Regions from separate parts of the Homo sapiens genome. Here regions 2, 3, 4, 5, 6 and 7 are each linked to region 1. Evidence: promoter capture Hi-C in 16 types of primary human blood cells and fetal thymus (Javierre and others, 2016). All regions are on one chromosome and are shown on one strand. The core of a region is centred on a gene start or on the middle of the fragment in contact, and the rest is flanking DNA. Distances in the headings are between cores, read along the strand shown.

What was found. Contacts are between HindIII fragments. The CHiCAGO score rates a contact against its expected background, and 5 or more counts as called.
Region 2: a fragment that was not itself captured here is called in contact with the fragment with the promoter of PLEKHM3 in region 1 in 2 of 17 cell types (total CD8 T cells and naive CD8 T cells); the score reaches 6.3 in total CD8 T cells.
Region 3: a contact is called between a fragment that was not itself captured here and the fragment with the promoter of PLEKHM3 in region 1, in 1 of 17 cell types (total CD8 T cells). The highest score is 5.8, in total CD8 T cells.
Region 4: a fragment that was not itself captured here is called in contact with the fragment with the promoter of PLEKHM3 in region 1 in 1 of 17 cell types (total CD8 T cells); the score reaches 6.2 in total CD8 T cells.
Region 5: a fragment that was not itself captured here is called in contact with the fragment with the promoter of PLEKHM3 in region 1 in 2 of 17 cell types (total CD8 T cells and monocytes); the score reaches 8.8 in total CD8 T cells.
Region 6: a contact is called between the fragment with the promoter of CCNYL1 here and the fragment with the promoter of PLEKHM3 in region 1, in 14 of 17 cell types (total CD8 T cells, fetal thymus, non-activated CD4 T cells and 11 more). The highest score is 15.0, in total CD8 T cells.
Region 7: a fragment that was not itself captured here is called in contact with the fragment with the promoter of PLEKHM3 in region 1 in 3 of 17 cell types (total CD8 T cells, M1 macrophages and non-activated CD4 T cells); the score reaches 6.3 in total CD8 T cells.

The regions. Positions count from the first base shown.
Region 1 is chr2:208,024,029-208,026,921 of GRCh38, reverse strand. PLEKHM3 (pleckstrin homology domain containing M3) reads left to right here and starts at 1,395. Exons shown (of 8, transcript NM_001080475.3): 1 at 1,395-1,533. The HindIII fragment of the contact is 3,995 bases long and covers 441-2,893 here.
Region 2 is chr2:207,521,417-207,524,309 of GRCh38, reverse strand. LOC124907970 (a long non-coding RNA gene) reads left to right here. Exons shown (of 3, transcript XR_007088060.1): 3 at 1-2,893. Among named protein-coding and RNA genes, the nearest start is that of CREB1, 7.1 kb to the left of the region's middle. RefSeq lists a silencer at 1,080-1,159 and an enhancer at 2,737-2,786. The HindIII fragment of the contact is 760 bases long and covers 1,060-1,819 here.
Region 3 is chr2:207,571,790-207,574,682 of GRCh38, reverse strand. The region is part of intron 5 of CREB1 (cAMP responsive element binding protein 1); the gene reads right to left. Among named protein-coding and RNA genes, the nearest start is that of CREB1, 43 kb to the right of the region's middle. The HindIII fragment of the contact is 2,076 bases long and covers 337-2,412 here.
Region 4 is chr2:207,597,826-207,600,718 of GRCh38, reverse strand. CREB1 (cAMP responsive element binding protein 1) reads right to left here. Exons shown (of 8, transcript NM_004379.5): 8 at 1-2,893. It also overlaps a transcript of METTL21A not described here. Among named protein-coding and RNA genes, the nearest start is that of METTL21A, 26 kb to the left of the region's middle. The HindIII fragment of the contact is 461 bases long and covers 1,305-1,765 here.
Region 5 is chr2:207,632,908-207,635,800 of GRCh38, reverse strand. No RefSeq gene overlaps it. Among named protein-coding and RNA genes, the nearest start is that of METTL21A, 9.0 kb to the right of the region's middle. The HindIII fragment of the contact is 2,102 bases long and covers 411-2,512 here.
Region 6 is chr2:207,710,175-207,713,067 of GRCh38, reverse strand. It overlaps CCNYL1 (cyclin Y like 1), which reads right to left and starts at 1,428. Exons shown (of 10, transcript NM_001330218.2): 1 at 952-1,428. The coding sequence starts at 1,171. RefSeq lists silencers at 605-764, 777-886, 1,307-1,756 and enhancers at 628-1,624, 1,977-2,026, 2,037-2,236. The HindIII fragment of the contact is 3,390 bases long and covers 1-2,732 here.
Region 7 is chr2:207,727,295-207,730,187 of GRCh38, reverse strand. All of the region lies in intron 3 of CCNYL1 (cyclin Y like 1), which reads right to left. Among named protein-coding and RNA genes, the nearest start is that of CCNYL1, 17 kb to the right of the region's middle. The HindIII fragment of the contact is 153 bases long and covers 1,458-1,610 here.

The DNA.
Region 1 (2,893 bases), core at 146-2,645:
GGTAATTAAAACAAAACAAAACAAAAAATGTACCTCTGGCCAGGTGAGGTGGCTCACACCTGTAATCCCAGCACTTTGGAAGGCAAGGAAGAAGGATTGCCTGAGGCCAGGAGTTCAGGATCATCCTGGGCAACACAGGGAGACCTTGCCTTTACAAAAAAAAAAAAAAGAGAAAGAAAGAAAAAAGAAGTTAGCCACGTTGTGGTGATGCGTGCCTGTAGTCCTAGCTACTCAGGAGGCTGAGTTGGGGGGATCCCTTGAACCCAGGAGTTCAGGGCTGCAGTGAGCTATGATCGTGCGACTGCACTCTGGCCGGGGCACAGAGTGAGATCCTGTCTCTAGCAAAACAGAAAAAAAAGTACCTCAAATTGCAGGGTTTAAAGAAAGCTTATTTAAACTTTGAATATCAACCAAAGGAAATTTTTTCTTAACTCAAAGCTTAAAGATTTGCTTATTAATCTTCTGGAGGGTGGGAAGGTGGGAAGAGGAATCAGAGTTTTAGATTTCTGTTTCATCCCTGACCCCTTTGACCTTTTTTTTTTTTTATCATTCCTTTGTTCATTCATTTATTCAGATATATATACATTGGGCCTGTGCTAGGTGCCTACTAGATGGTGGTGAGTGAAACTGAAATAGTGCCTGCCCTCAGGGAGTTTATAGGTGAGATGGGTGAGCGTGGGAAAACCAATAAAACTGATAAATAAGTGTGTACTTATAAAGTGAGAAAATGGCTAAGAAGTGTGCTATGATGGAAAACAGACAGGAAACTGCAAGGAAGGTCTGTCCAATCAGACCAGCATATCCCTGCAAAGCGACCACAGTCACTGCAGGTGGGATGTGGGCGGTCTTACCAGGCAGTCCTGCCCGCGTGCACACACACGCACACCCTATTTTGCTGGGAATCCGCAAGTGGGGGTGAAGACCTCACCTCAAAACCACCCCTTTTCAACCTGCGTAGGAAAGGACAGTGAAAACGGATTTTCACTGCAGCCCCAAAACCGGAAATGAGAAGCAATCTCCAGAATAGTCCCACTTTTGGAAAGAACTTATTTGAGTAATTAATTCCCTTAGACAAGGGAGCTGCTAAAAACCAGCCCGATCCTGACATGTTCTAAGTGACATTTTCCAATCGCAAACACCCATTTTGGCGTTGGGTGGAGCAGTGAGGAGACTCCACGACACACGCCATTGCTTTCACAATGTGTACAAGAGGAACTGTATATAAGAAAGCAAAGAAATAAGGAGGCCTGGCGGGTGCGGTCAGGCCTTGCCTAGCTGCCGGGTCCCTCGGGCAGGAAAGACTCGTCCTCGCGGCCTGGAACCTTGTGTGTCCGGCTCTGGCTGCCCGGGCCGCCGGCGGAAGCATTTCAGAGTGGGACCGCGAGAAGCCGCTTGTAAACAGAGCCGGGCCGGGATGGTCAGCGCCCGGGCGGGCTGTCACCGTGAGGCGGGCGGCAGGCTGCGGGAGTCAAGCCCCTCCAGGAGCGGACTGAAGGCCCCGCAGGTGAATGGAGAGTAGCAGCCGGGGCCCAGGTGAGCATCCGTCTGCTTCTGTGCTGCCTGGCCGGCCAGTTTGGGGGATGGGGTGGGGACGACTGCATTGTAAATATCCGAGCAGCTCCCAGGGATAGCAGTGATTTTGCTGTTTCTTGCATGCTCAGGTTTTTATTACGTGCTGGAGATTGTACCACACTGCAATGGCTAATGGGTGAGGGGAGATTACATGATGCATTGTCTGCTTATTTTTGTGAATCAGGTATGTAATAGGAGGAGAAAGTAGTTGAAATAGTAGGTGATCTTGTTGAGTGCGTTATTAGTATCCCTGCCATCCCCGCCTGGGGATTATAAAACCAAACCCCAGCAGAGCTTTTAACCTACATCAGGCTGGGGCTTCCAGAAAACGATTGTTCTTTCTGTCGACTCTGTCCGTTTTTAATGTATAGTAAATGACACCACATGACTGATGACAAGCATGGTTTGGTCTTGTAGGAAAGAATTATTAAGCTAAAAAATCAAGATAAGAAAATCTCACACTCATCCCTTAAACAAAAATAAATTACTACTGAGATATATATTTGGATGACAAATTGAGACTGGTCTGGATGTATACCTTGCAAAGCAAGACAAATTTGAATTTACCAGGTTAAACTGAGATTGAGCCATGCTGTTGTAAACTTATTTAGAAGTTTATTTCTCTCTTCTTTTTTCTTCCTTGGAAGGGACCAGAGAGAAACAGCTGAATTTTTTTCTCTATATTTTAAGTAATCGTAGTGAGTTGTGATTTGTATTTATAAAGTATTTTATTATAAAATACTACATGTAAATTATAATTGGCATACTTAAAATACAAGGCAGTTTTTGACTGACTGACTTCAAGAAAATGCCTTAACAAAAGCTGGGCTATATATCTAGTCTCTAAAAATATCAGTAGACATTTGTAACCTTGGTCACATAGTCTTTTAGACAGGAGATGAATATTAGGTTAAATTGCACCTACAATAGATAGATATACATAGAAGAAATGATACTAATTCCTGATGAGTTTTTCTTTACAATGAATATTTTTACAATGTCATGGTTTATAGCAAAAACTATAAAGCCAGACTACTTCAGTTTGAATTCCTGCTTGGTCACTTCCTAGTTGTGTAATCTTGGGCAGTTTACTTAGCGCTTCTGTTTCCTAATCTGTAGAATGGGAATAATAATAGTATTGACCTCATTAGGGTTTTTATTATTGTTATTTTATTTTATTTTATTTTATTTTATTTTATTTTATTTTGAGACAGGGTCTTACTCTGTCATTCGGGCTGGAGTACAGTGGCGTGATCATGGCTCACTGCAGTCTCGACTTCCTGGACTCAAGCGATCCTTCCACCTCAGCCTCCCTTGTGGC
Region 2 (2,893 bases), core at 190-2,689, 500 kb after region 1:
TTAATTTGACTTTCCAGATAGAAAAGAAAGCACTAATCTCTTCACAACTATTTCTGGTCTGTTTACCAGTTACATTTCCCCCATGCAAATTAATGTATTGTATCTTAAAACTGATTTTAAAAACCAGAAAAACAAAACAAAAAAAATTTTGGCTTTTACTTCCCCTTCCAGCTACTGTCCCATTTGTTTTTGTTCTCCTTTACTATAAAATCCTTGAAAGAGTTCTATATTCACTGCCCCAATTCCTTTTCTCCTGTTTTCTATTAAAACTATTTTAACTACCTCTTGCCCCCAGCATTCCACTGAAATTACTCTCCAATTACTTTGTTATTTTGTTAGTTAATCCAATAGCCAGTTCTTTGTCTCTATCCTTGACCTATCAGCATTTGCCATAGTTGATTACTCCCTCCTCCCTTTAACACTTTCTCCACTTAGTTTATAGGATACTTCAGTCTCCTGGTTTTAGTCCTACACTACTAGTCACTGTTCTCAAACTCCTGCTCATGACCTCTTAATATTGGAGTGTCCCAGGCCTCTGCCTTGGAATTTTTTTCTTCTGTTCCTACCCCCTTTCCTATAGTGCTCTCATTCAGTCTTCTGTCTTTACATGTAAATATGCTCACAACTCCCAAGTCTTAAACCCAAACTTGTATTCCAAGTACCTCAGCATCTTTACTTGTATATTTAATAGACCTCTTCATTTGATCATATCCAAAACAAAACTCAGCATACCCCTTCCCCTCAAAAACTTTCTCTACCTACAACCTTCTTTATCTCAGTTATTGGCAACTCCATCATTTGATTGCTGAGGCCAACTCAGCAACTCTTTTATATCCCACATTCAGTTTGTCATCAAAGCCTATTGCTCTCTCTTCAAAATATATGACCACTCTCCCCAACTCCACTGATAGCAGCTTGGTCCAAACTACTGTCATCATTGACTAGAATTTTGTATTAGCTACCCTTAACATTCATTCTATTCTCAACACAGCAGCCAGAGTGATACCTTTAAAATATAGAGCAGACCATATTAAGACTGTTCAAAACTTTCTAAAAGCTTCCTATCTCACTCAGAGTAAAAGCACTTATTTTTACAATTAGTCCCTGTACACCCCCTTACCTCTCTGGTCTTAGTTCCTTCTGTTATTCCCCTCCATTCTCTGTTCAGTCACATTGGCGGCCTCCTTGCTGTTTCTCAAACACTTTGAACACACTTTCTCCCAAGAGACTTTGCCCTTGCTATTTCCTCTGCTCTGAATGCTTCTCCCAGATATCCATGTCTTCCTTGACTCCTCATGTCTTTGCTCAAATGCTCCTGTTTCTGTGAGGCCTTTCCTTACTACTCTGGTGGAAATTGATCACCGAACAACCACCTCTTTGCTCTTTTGCTCTCCCTATTTTCCTTTACTACTTATTTTTCTCCATTGCACATATCACTTTCTCTGTGCTATATATTAACTTATTTATTGTGTTTATTGTCTGCCCCCTCTAGGGCAGGGACTTTTGTCCCTTTTTTTTTCGCTGCTGTATCCTTAACATCTAGAAGAGTACCTGGTACACAGCTGGGACTCAAATATTTGTTGAATGAATGCAATTGAAATTTTGGATGTAATCTCCTGGATTAGCATAAGCAGGTCTTTCTTAGACTGATCACCTGTAGGTGCATCTATAAATATTGAGCTTCTGTATTACAGCCTGAATCATGGTGGCTCCACCAAGCTAACAGCTTCTTGTGGTGCCCAATTTCTATGTGGCTACACTCTGCCATTTCTGTCTGGGTTCCTTATAACCTTAAAGAGACGAAGACCTCTTTGAAGCTTTCTGGTCTTCCCATGTCACAGAGTCGGAACTGGAGAACTGATCAGCAAGATTCTGGTAGCTTGTAATTAGCATTTCAAGGGCCAAATGGTAGGATACTAGTGCTGCTGCATGCTCCATCTTCTCTGCAACTGAAAGCAATACCATGTAAACATGTCAGGTGGTCTCTTATTATCTTAGAAATTGCAAAAAGTCCAGTGGCTGGCACTAAAACCAGGAACAGTAACAAGCAAAGATTTATTGGCTGGGTATGGTGGCTCAAGCCTGTAATCTCAGCACTTTGGGAGGCTGAGGCGGCCAGATCATGAGGTCAAGAGTTCGAGACCAGCCTGGCCAACATGGTGAAACCCCGTCTCTACTGAAAATACAAAAATTAGCTGGGCGTGGTGGCACGTGCTTGCAGTCCGCAGCTACTTGGAAGGCTGAGGCAGGAGGATCACTTCACCCGGGAGGCGAAGGTTGCACTGAGCCGAGATCGTACCACTTGCACTCCAGCCTGGGCGACAGAGTGAGACTCTGTCTCAGGAAAAAAAAAAAAAAAAAGATGTATTGAGTGCTTGCTTTGTGCTGGCACTGTTCTAAACACCTTTTGATATATTACCTAATTTAATCCTCACAACAACCCAGTGAGGGAAATATTAATATTAGGAACATTTTACAGATGAGTAAACTGAAACCAGAGAAGAAACGTGTCTGTGGTCTTAGAGCCAGTGAGTGTCAGAGTCAGAATGTGAACCCAGGCACATTCTGACAGGCTTTAGAGCCTGAACTCTTAACCATTGTGTTCCACTGCCTGCTTACAGAATGAAAAGGGGAGAAGAACTTTACCTTGAAAAGAAAGCAAAATAACTATGACTCCATCACGGTAATTCTGCCATTCTAAAAGCACCTTCGTAACCAAGCACTTTCTTCTGGCATCAACCCTGTTGCTGTTTCATGCATAATACAAGATTTAGGCTGACTGGCCTCCAAGGTACTTTGTCACTCTTTCTAGTCAAAGGAGTGGGCTCCTTGAAACACTCTGCCAAACCTTTCCCCTGTATCTTTGCTTCACTAGCTCCTGCTCTTTAGCTGT
Region 3 (2,893 bases), core at 125-2,624, 450 kb after region 1:
TCATGGAATTTTAAAATCAGAGCTCAAGATCATCATTTAGAAAAAAAACTTTAACTGTCATTTCTAAATTATTTAATACATATCCAAGCATTCTCATATAGAACCCTTTGTTGTTTATGCCCTAATTAGCCACACCTGTCATTCATTTGTTAAACAATAAATCAGTCAACTTTTGCTCATACTAGTAGATATTTCACTTTATGAAAAACTAAATCACCTTTATGCTACAGTACATAGAAAAATTTAATTTAAAAATTAGATGATTTATTTGGAAGAAGCATTTTTAGATAGGTGGCAATATCCTCTCTAGACAATTCTCCCTGTAGGGGTCAAGCTTTTCAGAAAGAGAAGGACCAAAAATCACAATATCACATATAAAACTACAAAACTGATTTTAACTGAGTAAGAAAAAAGTAAACAATGCAGGAAAGTCAACATGTCTGATTAAGCATGTTACTGTCCATTAGAAGGGAATTAGTTTGGGATCAGTTATCCACCAGCTATGGGAAATAACATCCTGAGACATCTGTACATGGAAAATTGATTACTGCCTCATCAAGAAGTAAGAAGAGTTAATGGCTACAGTGTGATTAGTTTAGCAAAATGACACTTGTGAAAATTAAAATGCTGGCATATACACTGGATCTAGTTTAGCTAATCCCAGAAGTTTTACTTATCTTAGGCAGGGAGAAAAATGAGTAAGAACTATTCTAAGATTAATTTTGCATGATTACTTGAAAGAATCAGAAGGTTAACAGAAACAAATCACAATTTCTCATTTAGAGTTAATGAGTGAATCCTACTGTATTTAACATACCACTTTCTTCTTGGCTACAGAGCAGTGAATTCAAGGTGGGAAGAAGAAAGAAATAGTAAACCATATATGACAAGACTGGGTTGTAGTTTGAGTTCCATCACTGAACAGTTTTTTGTTTTAATTTTTTTCTTTTGAGACAGGGTCTTGTTCTGTCTTCCAGGCTGGAGTGCAGTGGCAAGATCACAGCTCACTGTAGCCTCCAACTGGTGGGCTCAAGTGATCCTCCTGCCTCAGCCTCCCAAGTAGCTAGCACAGGACATCAGGCCCTACTAATTTTCTAAAGACATTTTTTTGTAGAGACAGGGTTTTGCTATGTTGCCCAGGCTGATCTTGAACTCCTGGCCTCAAGCAGTCCTCCCACTTTGGCCTCCCCAAGTGTTGGGATCACAGACGTGAGCCACTGTGCCCAGCCATCACTAAACTGTTATTTGATTCTGTTCTCTCTTCTCTAAAAACAAAAGCATCTGGGTTCTAGCCACTAAGTACAATTGTTGTAAATATCAAATGAGGTCATGTATATGAAAATACTTTGGAAACTGAAGTCTAATCCTACTGAACACAGTTTTTCTCTATAATGTTTATGTATACACTTTATTATTCCAAAAAGATTTGAGATAGCTTTCAATAAAACACAATTCATTAAAACAAAAATAAAAAGACAGAAGTCAAGTAACGGATGTATCCTTAGTTATATAAAACAATTGTAGAAGAAAATCTAGACTAAGAAAAGAATACAATTAAACAGAAAGTTAGCTAAGAATCTGAGTTGCCAGAATAAAGAGGGAAACATCATGAGTCATAGTTTTATTTACTGAAACAAAAAAATTCAAGTTCAAAATGACAGATACACATTTTCTATCTAAGAGCAGAATCACTAATAAGATTTTACTATCTGGGACACTGAACTAATAAGTAACAGATAAATCTAGTAACAGCATGAATTTAATAAAATAACCAATTTAAGGAAGGAGTGGAAATTCATGCCTCCACCTGGAAGGGTACTTGCGGAGGATATGCTTTAATTTGATAATTCCACTCTTTTTTTTTTTTTTGAGATGGAGTCTCGCTGTTGCCCAGGCTGGAATGCAGTGGCGCTATCTCGGCTCACTGCAGGCTCCGCCCTCTGGGTTCACACCATTCTCCTGCCTCAGCCTCCCGAGTAGCTGGGACTACAGGTGCCCGCCACCTCGCTCGGCTAATTTTTTGTATTTTTAGTAGAGACGGGTTTTCACCGTGTTAGCCAGGATGGTCGATAATTCCACTCTTAGGATATTTATGTAGCACTGTTTGAAACAATAGAAATGTCCTAAATGTTCATCAGCAGGAGAATGTTTAAATAAGTGCTGTATTTACACAGTGAAACACAATGCAGCTATTAAACAAAATATATAACTATGTGTGTTTATATATCTATGGTGAATTCTGACAACCATATGTTCATTTTATAAGTTAAGAAATATAAATGTTGCTGTATATGTATTTATTATATTGCTCTTAATGAAAATCAAGAATATAATGTTAAATCAGTTCCATCAAAGCCAAAGCCATGTGTACATATACAGAGAGGACACAGGATAAAAATAATGAACAAAGCTTTAAAAATTTCAAAGTATTAATCTCTCTTTTTTTTTTTTTTTTTTGAGACGGAATCTTGCTCTGCCACCCAGGCTGGAGTGCAGTGGTGTGATCTCAGCTCACTGCCAGCTCCGCCTCCTGGGTTCAAGCAATTCTCCTGTCTCAGCCTCCCGAGTAGCTGGGATTACAGGCGTCCGCCACTATGCCCGGCTAATTTTTGTATTTTTAGTGGAGGCAGGGTTTCACCATGTTGGGCAGGCTGGTCTTGAACTCCTGACCTCATGATCCACCACCTTGGCCTCCCAGCGTGCTGGGATTACAGGCGAGAGCCACGGCGCCTGGCTCAATCTCTTAAAACTAGCAATTTTCAGCTGCTGGAGGAGACGAGTGTACCAAATTAAACATCTATGGGGGTGCTGGTACTTTTCTAACCTTCATTTCCCCTTTTTAGATTCTGATAGGCCTCTTTCCTAAAGAGCATGCTTCCTAGTTCAAGTGAGA
Region 4 (2,893 bases), core at 286-2,785, 430 kb after region 1:
TGCTTTCAGAGACTAGCACTGCTGCTGACCTACCATCAAAACACATTTTCTGACAAAATCCCTGCTCAAATGAAATGCCAAAATTCCTCCCCCAGGATGATTTTTGAAAAAATCAGTGGTTCCTTTAAAAAGCTATCTTCAAAATGTTCTTACCACTGTTATAGCTGCCACAGACAAAGCATACAAACCAAATACTTTTGGGGGAGAGGCTTTCAAGTGACTAGTAACATATTTAAAAGTATCAAGCCAAAGAAAACTAATAAAAAATAAAATACTTGGAAGAAAATTAGAAGATAAAATCAATCATGAGTGCTGGAGTAATGCAGTCATAGAAACTACCAGAAGGAATGCAACAGAACACACAAAAATGTAAAATTTCATCTGACCTCAATATACTATAATACTCAGCATTCCTGACTTAAGAGCTCTCAGAGCTTTAGATTATATACTGTATGTATATATATATATATATATATATATGTACACATATATTATACAAATGCCACCCCCCCCAAGAATATCTAAATGAAGAGAGCACCTATGACAATATTATGGTTGCCAATATGGTACTTGAGTTTGAAAAAGAATGAACTTAAAATTGTATCTGATAGCAATTATTTAATAATGAACACATTGGATCTAGCCCTTTCTAAGCCACTTTTCAGTTAAACATTATCAAAGCTTGAAAACTCATAAGAGTAATATATCAAAAATAAACCCCTCCCCACTTCATTTTTATTAATCTGTCCTATAGATAAAAGTGCCACATGGCCCTATATTTGCAAAGTGAGCAATATCAAACTTGCTATTTTCTAGGCAAATCAGTAGCATATGTACAAATTCCTATGATGACATTTTTATTCCCTTTTGGCCAATATAAAGAGAAAAACATTTATTACTGGTAATGTGGCCACATATGTTCTTGGCTACAAGGTTTTTAAAAATTATGTCATTTTCTTAATAAAGATTCTCAAAGTTTCATGCTTACAAACAAACCTCCCCACCATTCTTGCATTAAAAAAAGAAAACTGCACAAAAGATGCTTGATTTTATCTTTATAAACTGAAATCTTCAAGTTTCACCAAGGGTCTAAGACAGATTTAGCAACAGGATACATTTCTCACCTCATCATTAAGCAACTGACTTCAAAACCAGTGCAATCATCCTCAAGGTATGAAGGATAAGGTCTTTATAACTTATAAATTCATCCAGCTCACATGAATGTGATTGCCTTGATTTATCAGGGACTAAGAGGACCACCAACTTCCCAGTAAGTAGAAAGCCTGAACTTTTGAAAAAAAGCTTTAGAGAATACAAACTGCTAAACATCAGGCAATTTTTCATTTATAACACTTACTTCATTCAAAATGTTCGATTCGACATTTTGACTCAATAAATAATTCCAACTTGTGAACATATTTGTGACTTTGCTTGATTTCTGTTAAACCAGTTTTTAAAAATGACATATCTATGCGGTTACACAATTTTTATGCTATAACTTTCCCCATTAGCTCAGCAGGACAAACATCAAACTTTATAGTTGTTTGAAAGCCTTCTTGAGAATCTGGTGAACTGTCCAAACATAAAGACTACATCACTTAATTCTTAGAATGATGCTCCTTCATAAACTCTGTTCATCCTTGAAAAAAGACAATGGTTTGTTACAAACGAAAATATACCATTTACAAATGTTAATTAAAATCTTATTTTAAAATGGATCCAGCAATTAACACTTAAATCTTCATATTTTGTTGTTAAACAAGCTTGACTTTCTTAAATAACTCTTGACTAAATATAAAACATTAGTTTTCTAAGTGTCTCAACTCTTTTTTAAAAGGAATTTCCTTCCCAAATGAGACATTTTTTTTATTTTTATTTTTTGAGATGGAGTCGCCCAGGCTGGAGTGCAATGGTGCTATCTCGGCTCACTGCAACCCTCTGCCTCCTGGGTTCAAGCAATTCTGCTGCCTCAACCTCCTGAGTAGCTGGGATTACAGGCGCCAGCCACCACGCCTGGCTAATTTTTGTATTTTTAGTAGAGATGGGGTTTCACCATGATGGCCAGGCTGGTCTTGAACTCTTGACCACAGGTGATCCACCCACCTTGGCCTCCCAAAGTGCTGGGATTACAGGCGTGAGCCACTGCGCCCGGCTCCAAATGAGAAATTATAACCTAACATTATGTCAGTTTCCAATTTTTAAAATCCACCTTAGTCTTTTTTTTTTTTTTTTAAGAGTAACTGTTAGATTTATCGAGCTTAGTGAATAAAATGAGTAACAATTAAAAGTGGTATTGAAAACAATGTATGATATACACAAATACAGACTGTTTTAATCAGGAATTAAAATTATAAAATGACAAAGGCTATACAGCATATTGGAAAGCTAAAGCAGAACTAATAACTACTCTTTTTACAAGAGAACAAAAAAATGTTTTGTAAGAATGACAATCCAAATATTGCAGTACAGCAGTCATTCAAATATGTCTGAAAATAACTTTCCTTGTGCACATCTAACACTGTACTTTTTATATCCTTACAACTTCTTTCATTTAAAAAATTCACTAGAGATTCTCTGTTAAATTGTTAATATGGAAAATATTTAAAATCAGTATTTTTCTACATGTAACATTTCATAAACAAATATATATCACTTTGCTTTATTTGACATCTTGAAGGCTTTCTTGGTGGTGGTATGTAAGTGCAATGGGCAACAGTAAATTAGAAATATCTTTTTACGTAAATGAGTGACAATATAAATATTTTTGAAGGTGAGGACAATAACATTTATTTAAAAATCTTGTTATATAACTCAAGGGATTGGTTTACTGATCAGCATTTTACTAAGAATTTAGTACTAACTAAAATATGCTTTGTACTTTTATTTACTTTGC
Region 5 (2,893 bases), core at 212-2,711, 390 kb after region 1:
CTCTGTGAATGCCACTCCAGGCCTCTCTGCCCTGGAGCATGCATTGGCAATAAATTCCCTATGTGCGGCTCAGTCCAGATCTTTCTGCCTCTAGGAGCAGGCCTGTGGGCAGAACCTGCACTCTCCTCTGCTCCTTCATGCTATAGGAATTACATGCGAGGCCTGCCCCATCCAGTGCTGGATGAGTCACCTTAGCGTTCTTCGTTCTTCGTAGGTCCATCTGCCTGCAGATATAAGCCTCGCCCTCCAACTTCTTCTGTCTCAGTAAATAGAGGGGATGTTTTTGCCTTCAGCTTTAGTCGTTGTTTTATTTCTCAGCTTGTTTAGAACCCAGAGAAAATAAAGTGAGAGGCTGTTTACTGGTGCTCCGTCACAGACCCTGACAGTATCGTAAGTAAATGAATGAAGCTTGTGGGGACAAGACAACAAGCAGGGGAGGGGACCGCGGCACACTGAGGGGAGACCATAATGTCCAAAGGAAGAGCCAGCTTGGCTCTAGCTCATTGCCATCTTGTGGGCATTTGGACCCATGTTTGCCAGATATTTCAAAATTTTCAAAGAAAGCCATTTCAAATAATTATCTTAATTTTACTATCTTGATTTTTATCTGACATCTTGCTATGGTTTGAATGTGTTCCCCCAAAAGGCATGCATTGGAAACTTAATCAGTGTTGGGAGGTGGGGCCTAATGGAGGTATTTAGGTCATAAGGCTCCACCCTCATGAATGGATTAATAATGATTATAAAAGGGCTTGAGGGTGCAAGTTTGAACTCTTGCTCTCTCTCACTCCTTCTTTGTGTTTCCTTCATGGGATAGCACAGCAAGAAGGTTCTCCCCAGATGCCAGCCCCTTGATCTTGGACGTTCTAGCCTCCAGAACCAGAAGTCAATAAATTTCTGCTCATTATAAATTACTCAGTCTTAGATAATTCTTTTTTTTTTTTTGAGATGGAGTCTCGCCCTGTCACCCAGGCTGGAATACAGTGGTGCGATCTTGGCTCACTGCAACCTCCACCTCCTGAGTTCAAGTGATTCTCCTGCCCCAGCCTCCGAAGTAGCTGGGATTACAGGTGCACGCCACTATGCCCAGCTAATTTTTGTATTTTTAGTAGAGACAGGGTTTCACTATGTTGGTCAGGCTGGTCTCAAACTCTTGACCTCGTGATCTGCCCGCCTTGGCCTCCCAAAGTGTTGGGATTACAGGCGTGAGCCACCTCGCCCAGCCGGTAATTCTTCTATAGCAGCACAAAATGGACTAAGATACATCTCCTTACTTTCAAATATTGACACTAAACTAAAAAACAAAACACCATGAGAGCCAAGTCTGCATGGGACACACAAAACACATCTGTAGGTCAAGGCTTTTTGGAGGCTGCCAGTCGGGGACACTGCCTCCATCCTGCCCTGGATCCTCAGCACTGCATCCTCTCTGGTCACATTAGCATGTAACTCCGCTCCCACTCCTGTACATACCACCAGGAAAACCTGAACTCAAAATGCCCTGTGTCACCTGGGAAGAGGCACTGCTCAAATACATGAGCTCTTGGAATTACAAGCTAGCACTTTCACTTGACTATTTACTATTCTCTTCTTGATGTTGTCTTTTGGTTTGACTTACTTAAAATGTACCTGCTTTTCTAATTACACACAAATTAACCTATAAATTATGAAAAGGCAAATGGCTTCATACCTTTTCTTGGAATCATCAAAAGATAAGACAGTCAATAGCTTCTTACCCAAACATGTACTATACCTGGGAATATTATTGAACCCTAGGTTAATGAAACACAAATAATGAAAGTAACTACAAATTCTTCAGCATCATTAACTCAAAGGTATCTAATAAGTTGAATTCGCATTTAAACACTTTTGGAGTGAGGTGGGCAATAATTTGATGTGATGTATTGTAACATTCATTCATTCATTCATTCATTCATTCATTCAACAAATAGTTGTCCAGCCGTTTCCAGCTGAAAGCCACAGATGTGACTCTAAAACCCAACAGAACACAAGTCTGGAAACTTCTCCCCTAGCTGCTGCTTCTATTTTGTTGTAGAACAAGAGCATCAGGCATGGCTGCAGTTGTCCAGGAGCTGTGATCAAAAATGCGATTTCATCAGCAAAATGAAAAATCCAAATGTAGCTATTTATGCTGCATATTCCCTCAAGGTAGCGCTGAGCAGTTGTCTTGTTTTTTCTCTCTGCAGTCAGGTCTTACGGAAATACTGAGAAGCTAGACAAGAACTTAAAAAAGACAGTGGTGAACACAGTTATACCAAGACTCTGTCTATGGTTGTCTTTCTTTAGCACCAGCTGGAGCTTTATTCCTTAAGGCTTTTTGAATATCCTTAAGCCAACTCCTTAGCTGTATGGTAGTGTCTTCAGGGCAGCCAGCCTCACCCTTGAGGGCACCCAGGGTCTGTGACTCACACAGAGAGTTGTGTAGTGATGATGCAAAAATACCTCTCCTGCAGGGTGTAAGTTGTTAGTGGAGTTTGGGTAGTTCAAAGCTTTCATTCTTCTGTTTGACTTAATCTTAAGAGTTATCTTGTGCCACTTACCCCTTGCTCCTGGCTGGTCAGTTGACAGTTTCTTCTGCCTGGGGGCTTTTGCAGTTTCTGTTCCCTTGCTTGAAATGCCATTCCCTTGGCTCTTCAAGTGGCTGTTTTCTTCTACTCTTTTAAATTTCCATTTAAATGTCACCTCTTCAGAGCCCTCTCCTTTCCCCAGCTCAAATGGCCTGCCCTTGTGTATTAATGGAGATAGGCTATATGCTACAATAGTGAATAAATTCCAAATGTCAGTGGTTAACATGACAAAGATTGATTTCTTGCTCATGTCACAATCCACTGTGAGTTGAGCAACTCTCCTCTAAGCAATGACTCAGGGATCC
Region 6 (2,893 bases), core at 179-2,678, 310 kb after region 1:
CCGAGGCGGGCGGATCAAGAACTCTGGAGTTAGAGACCAGCCTGACCAACATGGTGAAACCCCGTCTCTACTAAAAATTCAAAAATTAGCTGGGCGTGGTGGCGCACGCCTGTAATCCCAGCTACTCGGGAGGCTGAGGCAGAGGAATCGCTTGAAACCGAGAGGCGGAGGTTGCAGCGAGCCGAGATCGCGCCACTGCACTCCAGCCTGGGCGGGCGACAAAACGAGATTCCGTCTCAAAAAAACAACTTGTCTGCACCCCTGGTAATAACCTCTCACACCCTTCACAGTCATTTTACGCCCCTCCCCCCATTTTCTTTCTTTCTGTGTTCAAATTATAGTTGGAAGGAATAAAGCAGCTTCTTTCACGCCGACTTAACCTATTAGGAATACCATATAGTGTCTCCTATGGCAACCTCTATTTTGAGTCTAGATAAGAAATCCTCAAACATCTGGGTCTAAACTGTCGCGGGCATCAGCTATCTTCACGGATGGGAGGAAGGAACAATCAGACCCTTACCTGGTTCCTTCACTTAGGTACCATCTGGATGGGTTAAGGGAGGGAATGGGATGAGTACTCCGAAGTTGAGGTATTTGAGTTTCCATTGAGAAAAGGAAAACAATATACCCCAAAAGTCTTAGCAAAGTCCCACCAGACAATGAACAGAGCTACAAACAAGAAGGGCGGCGGACTAGAGGGTCCCACGCCGGCTTGGGAGAATGGGAAGCGGGAGCAAGAACTGGGCGTTACGGTAAGGAGGAGGAAAAGAAACTGGCCAGACGCAGCAGGGCAAGAATAAGGGGTGGGGACGCGAGGCAGAACCAGCCTTCGTCCCGGGGCCGGCTACCGGCAGGAAGGAGCCCGAGGCGGCGGATGCCTCCCGGGGGACTCTGGGGGAGGAGGCGGGCAGAGGTGAGCCCGAGGGCGGATGGCATCCGCCGCCTCCTTACCTTCGGGCATCTCGCGGTCGCTGATGTGCTGCAGGTGGTGGCCCTCGCCCTCTCCGAAATCCAACTCGGCAGGCTCCACCACAGCGGGCGCTACCGCCACCGCGTCCCCGGACACCGCCTCGTAGATGTCGGACGCGCAGTACAGCTCCGCCGACCCCGCGCGCCGGCCCAGCTTGGGGCTGGCATTGGGGGACACGCAACAGGTCAGCGTGTTCCCCATGGGAAGCCTCCGCTCCTCTCTGCCACCGCCTTCGCTCGCCCCCTACTCCGCCGCCCTCAACAGCCGCCCCCTCCCCCAACAATGGCGCGGCCGGCACCGGCAGCCCCGGGCTACGCTGGGGCTGCACCGCGCAAGCAGACGCCGCCTCGCCCGCGGTTCGCCCGCCCGCCCCGCGGCCCGGCCCCGGGCAGGGCTCGGGCCTCGGCCGCACCCCCACCGCCGCGCTGCCGCCGCCTCCCTTAAGCTGACTCGTCTGCGAGGGCGGTGACCAGCCCGGCTTATTTAAAAGGGGTGGGGAACCCAACAAGCGCTGTGAAGCACAGCCACTGCCGGGAGAGAGCGCGGCTGGAGCTCCTCCTCCTTCCGCCGCCGCCTACCGACTGAAGGCCGCTGGCCCTGGCCGGTGCCTGCCAACCGGAACGCGACCTGCGGTCACCTGGTTAGGAGGAACCAATCATGGTCAGAGTTCCCCCTCCGGCGCCCGCCTCGAAGCCAGGCACGTGACCTGCTGCCCCGCCCCCGCCTGGCAGCTGCCCAGCCCCTCACGCCGCTATCCCAGACTCGGGTTTTCATTCATCGCTGGCTGCTGGGAGCTTTCCGGTCCTACTGGAAGCGCACGGGCATTTGTAACTGGAAGCTGTGTCAATGATCTCTGTAGAAAGCCGTTATTAGTAAAGAGTTCGCTCCATTAGCAACTCTTCTTCCGAGTCTGACAGCTTTCGTTTGCTCACTAAACTTGGTTACACCCAAATTGTTAACTGTTTTTGTAACTCAGTGCTCCGCTCCTGTCTTCCAATGAGCGTTAGTTTTCACCTGCAACGTGATCATAGCAACCCTGGGGCCCTGGTCCTACTCTCCATAAAGAGTTGTGGCTGTGGGTCTTGAATGAGACTCGAGGACACGTCACCCTTCCACTTCCTCATCCATAAAATAGGGACCTAACTCGTCCCTGCCAACTCTGAAATGCTGGGACTCGCCAACTCCCTTTTCTTGCCTGTTTCTCTCCTCTAGGCAGGGACTTCCAGGTTTCTCTTCTTGTACTAAAAACAGCACAGAAAGCACGATTTTCTCACGCAAAACTGAGAACCATGCAGTGGGGCACCACAGTCTTGATTCCATGAAGATGAATAGTTACCATTTGGCAAGCACTATGTGCCAGACAGTGTTCCAACTGTGGTATATTTATTTAACCCTTAAAAACAATCCCGGCCGGGCGCGGTGGCTCATGCCTGTAATCCCAACACTTTGGGAGGCCGAGGCGGGCGGATCACCAGGTCAGGAGATCCAGACCATCCTGGCTAACACGGTGAAATCCCGTCTCTACTAAAAATACAAAAAATTAGCCGGGCATGGTGGCACGCGCCCGTATTCCCAGCTACTCGGGAGGCTGAGGCAGGAGAATCACTTGAACCCGGGAGGCAGAGGTTGCCGTAAGCCGAGATCGCGCCATTGCACTCCAGCCTGGGCGACCTAGGCTCCGTTTCAAAAAAATAAAACATAAAAATAAAAATAAATAAACAAATATATATATATACACACAATGTCACTTCCTCCCTAAGCTTGATTTCTACCTTTATTTTCTGATCATCATGATCAGGGACCCTCACCCTGAGCAGTCATGTAAGCTTGCGGAAGTAACTTAACTTCTGCGTCCCAATTTCTTCTATAAAACCTGCAAAATGGGATTGTTTTTTTTTTGTTTTTTTTTTTTTGAGACGGAGT
Region 7 (2,893 bases), core at 285-2,784, 300 kb after region 1:
TAGTAGGACTGAAATCTGGGAAATGGGAAAAAAAACTACACACTGAGAAGTGGAACTCCACCTCCCTTTTCCAACTCTGCTTCTGGAAAATGAGCAGCCATGCTTGTACTCCCCAGGTAGAAAATTGGGAGATTCTTCTCTGAAGAAACTGAACAGTCTCAGAAAAGACGCATCCAGCAGGGCACAGTGACTCACACCTGTAATCCCAGCACTTTGGGAGGCTGAGGTGGGTGAACTTGAGGCCAGGAGCTCGAGACCAGCTTGGCTAATACGGCAAAACCCTGTCTCTACTAAAAAAAAAAAAATTAGCCAGGCGTGGTGGCACACACCTGTAATCTCAGCCACTCAAGAGACCGAGGCACAAGAATCACTTGAACTCGGGAGGAAGAGGTTGCATCTTGGCAGAGGGCGCTGAGATCACGCCACTGCACTCCAGTATGGATGACAGAATGAGACTCTCTCAGAAAGAAAAGCAAAGGAAAGGATAGGACAGGAGAAAGGAAAGGGGAAAGGAAGGAGGAAAGGAAAGGAAAGGAGATAAAAAAGAAGAGAGAAAAGACAAGACAAGACCCACCAGATAACAGACTGAGGTCTTCTAAATTAAAGGCTAGCTTGGCCTCCAATGTCCTTGCAGTAAGAATCATCAGTTAACAAAAGTCCTGCTTCCAATTAGAGAAAGCCAGAGACTATCACACGTGAGGGAAGCCTCCAACAAGAGAGAGCAAAACAATAGGAAAAAGGAATGCATGGGAGTGGTGAAAATTCAGGAGCAAATGAAAACTTAAAAAAATTCTTAAAATACCTTCAAAAAGATGAAAGATTCAATAGAATGGTTAGAGCATAAAGTAAAAGAATGCCCAAGAAGTAGAACAAAAGACTAACTAGAAAATGGGAGAGTGCGGGGGGGTGGGGGGGGTGGGGTGGGGGCGGGGGGGGGCGGAGACAAGTAAAGATCAATGCAGAAACACTGGTCTAATAAGCTCAGCATCTGAATAGTAAGAATATCAGGAAAAAGAAGGAACAAAGAAAACAAAATTCTCTAGAAGACATAGTCTACAGACTTATTGGTCCCAATAAAAAGAAAAGGTCTAGGCCGGGTGCGGTGGCTCATGCCTGTAATCCCAACACTTTGGGACGCCGAGGCGGGCAGATCACAAGGTCAGGAGATCAAGACCATCCTGGCCAACATGGTAAAATCCCTTCTTTACTAAAAATACAAAAAAATTAGTCAGGCTTGGTGGCACGCCCCTGTAGTCCCAGCTACTTGGGAGGCTAAGGCAGGAGAATTGCTTGAACTTGGGAGGTGGGGATTGCAGTGAGCTGAGATCACGCCACTGCACTCAAGCCTGGCAACAGAGCAAGACTCCGTCTCAAAAAAAAGGAAAAAAGAAAAGGTCCATAGCAAGCCATATTAAGCAATTTCAGGATCTCAGGGATACAGAAGGCACTAAAAAGCTTCCGGAGACATGTAAAAACTGGTTACATGAACTGTATCACACAATGGCAACAGATTCAAGAATACTATAATGAGAACATAATAGAGAAATGTCTTCAGAACTATGAAATTTAGAGTGAACCTAGCATTTTATACTCTTATGAAATAGGAAGCTTTGGCTAGGTGCAGTGGCTCACACCTGTAACCCCAACACTTTGAAAGGCTGATGCAGGTGGATGGCTTGAGGCCAGGAGTTTGAGACCAGCCTGAGCAACAGGGCAAAACCCCATCTCTATGAAAAATACAAAAATTAGCTGGACATAGTGGCACATGCCTGTAGTCCCAGTTACTCGGAAGGCTGAGATGGGAGGATCACTTGAGCCCAGTAGGTTAAGGATGCAGTAAGCCAAGACCACACCACTGCCCTCCAGCTTGGGCAACAGAGTGAGACCCTGTCTCAAAAAAGAGAAAAAAAGAAAAAAAAAAAAAAAGGCCAGGTGCAGTGGCTCATGCCTGTAATCCCCACTTTGGGAGGCCAAGGCGGGCAGATCACCTGAGGTCAGGAGTTCGAGACCAGCCTGGCCAACATGGTGAAACCCCGTCTCTATTAAAAATACAAAAATTAGCTGGGCGTGGTGGCAGGCGCCTGTAATACCAGCTACTTGGGAGGCTGACACAGGAGAATCGCTTGAACCCGGGAGGCAGAGGTTGCAGTGAGCTGAGATCGCACCACTGCACTCCAGCCTGGGGGACAAGAGCAAGACTTTGTCTCAAAAAAAAAAAAAAAAGAGAGAGAGAGAAAGAAATAGGGGAGGTTTTCAGACAGGCTAGATCTCTAAATATGTCTGTCTATGGGCCCTTTCCCAGGAAAATGTACTCCGGTAAAACTAGGAAGGATAACAAGATAGAGGGAAACACAGAATCTAGGATTTAGGGGACCCAACACAAAAGGACAGTTATGTGAGATCCCAGATGACTTCAGAGAGATATCCCAGGAAAACAGGCACAGAACAGTCTTAGGAAAAACCCGTCTATATTTGAAGAGGATGACAAAAGGCTGAGGAAAGCTGTCTCCAAGAGAAAAATGGAACAGATGTGTTTTAGTAGATGGAAAACATTTTTGATAGGCATGTGGCAAATGCTACAACATTTGGGGGGAAAAATAGCTGTTAGAAAACAGCCAAATGAATATAGTCAGGAAATTAATTCCACACACACAAAAAAAAAGACATGAAAGCAAGGAGACCAGCCAAGGGTTACTACTGCATTTGGCTGTGTGAGCTAGTGGAGGCTAGGAAGAGACGTGCAGACACGCCCAGATTTCAGAAATATTTAAGAGAAACAAAGGATGTACAAGGAGAAGACAGTGAGAATAATATATGACTCAGCAGTGAATAATATCTGTATAATCATAACAATGTAAACATCAATTACTGATTTAATTAAAAATGTGATATA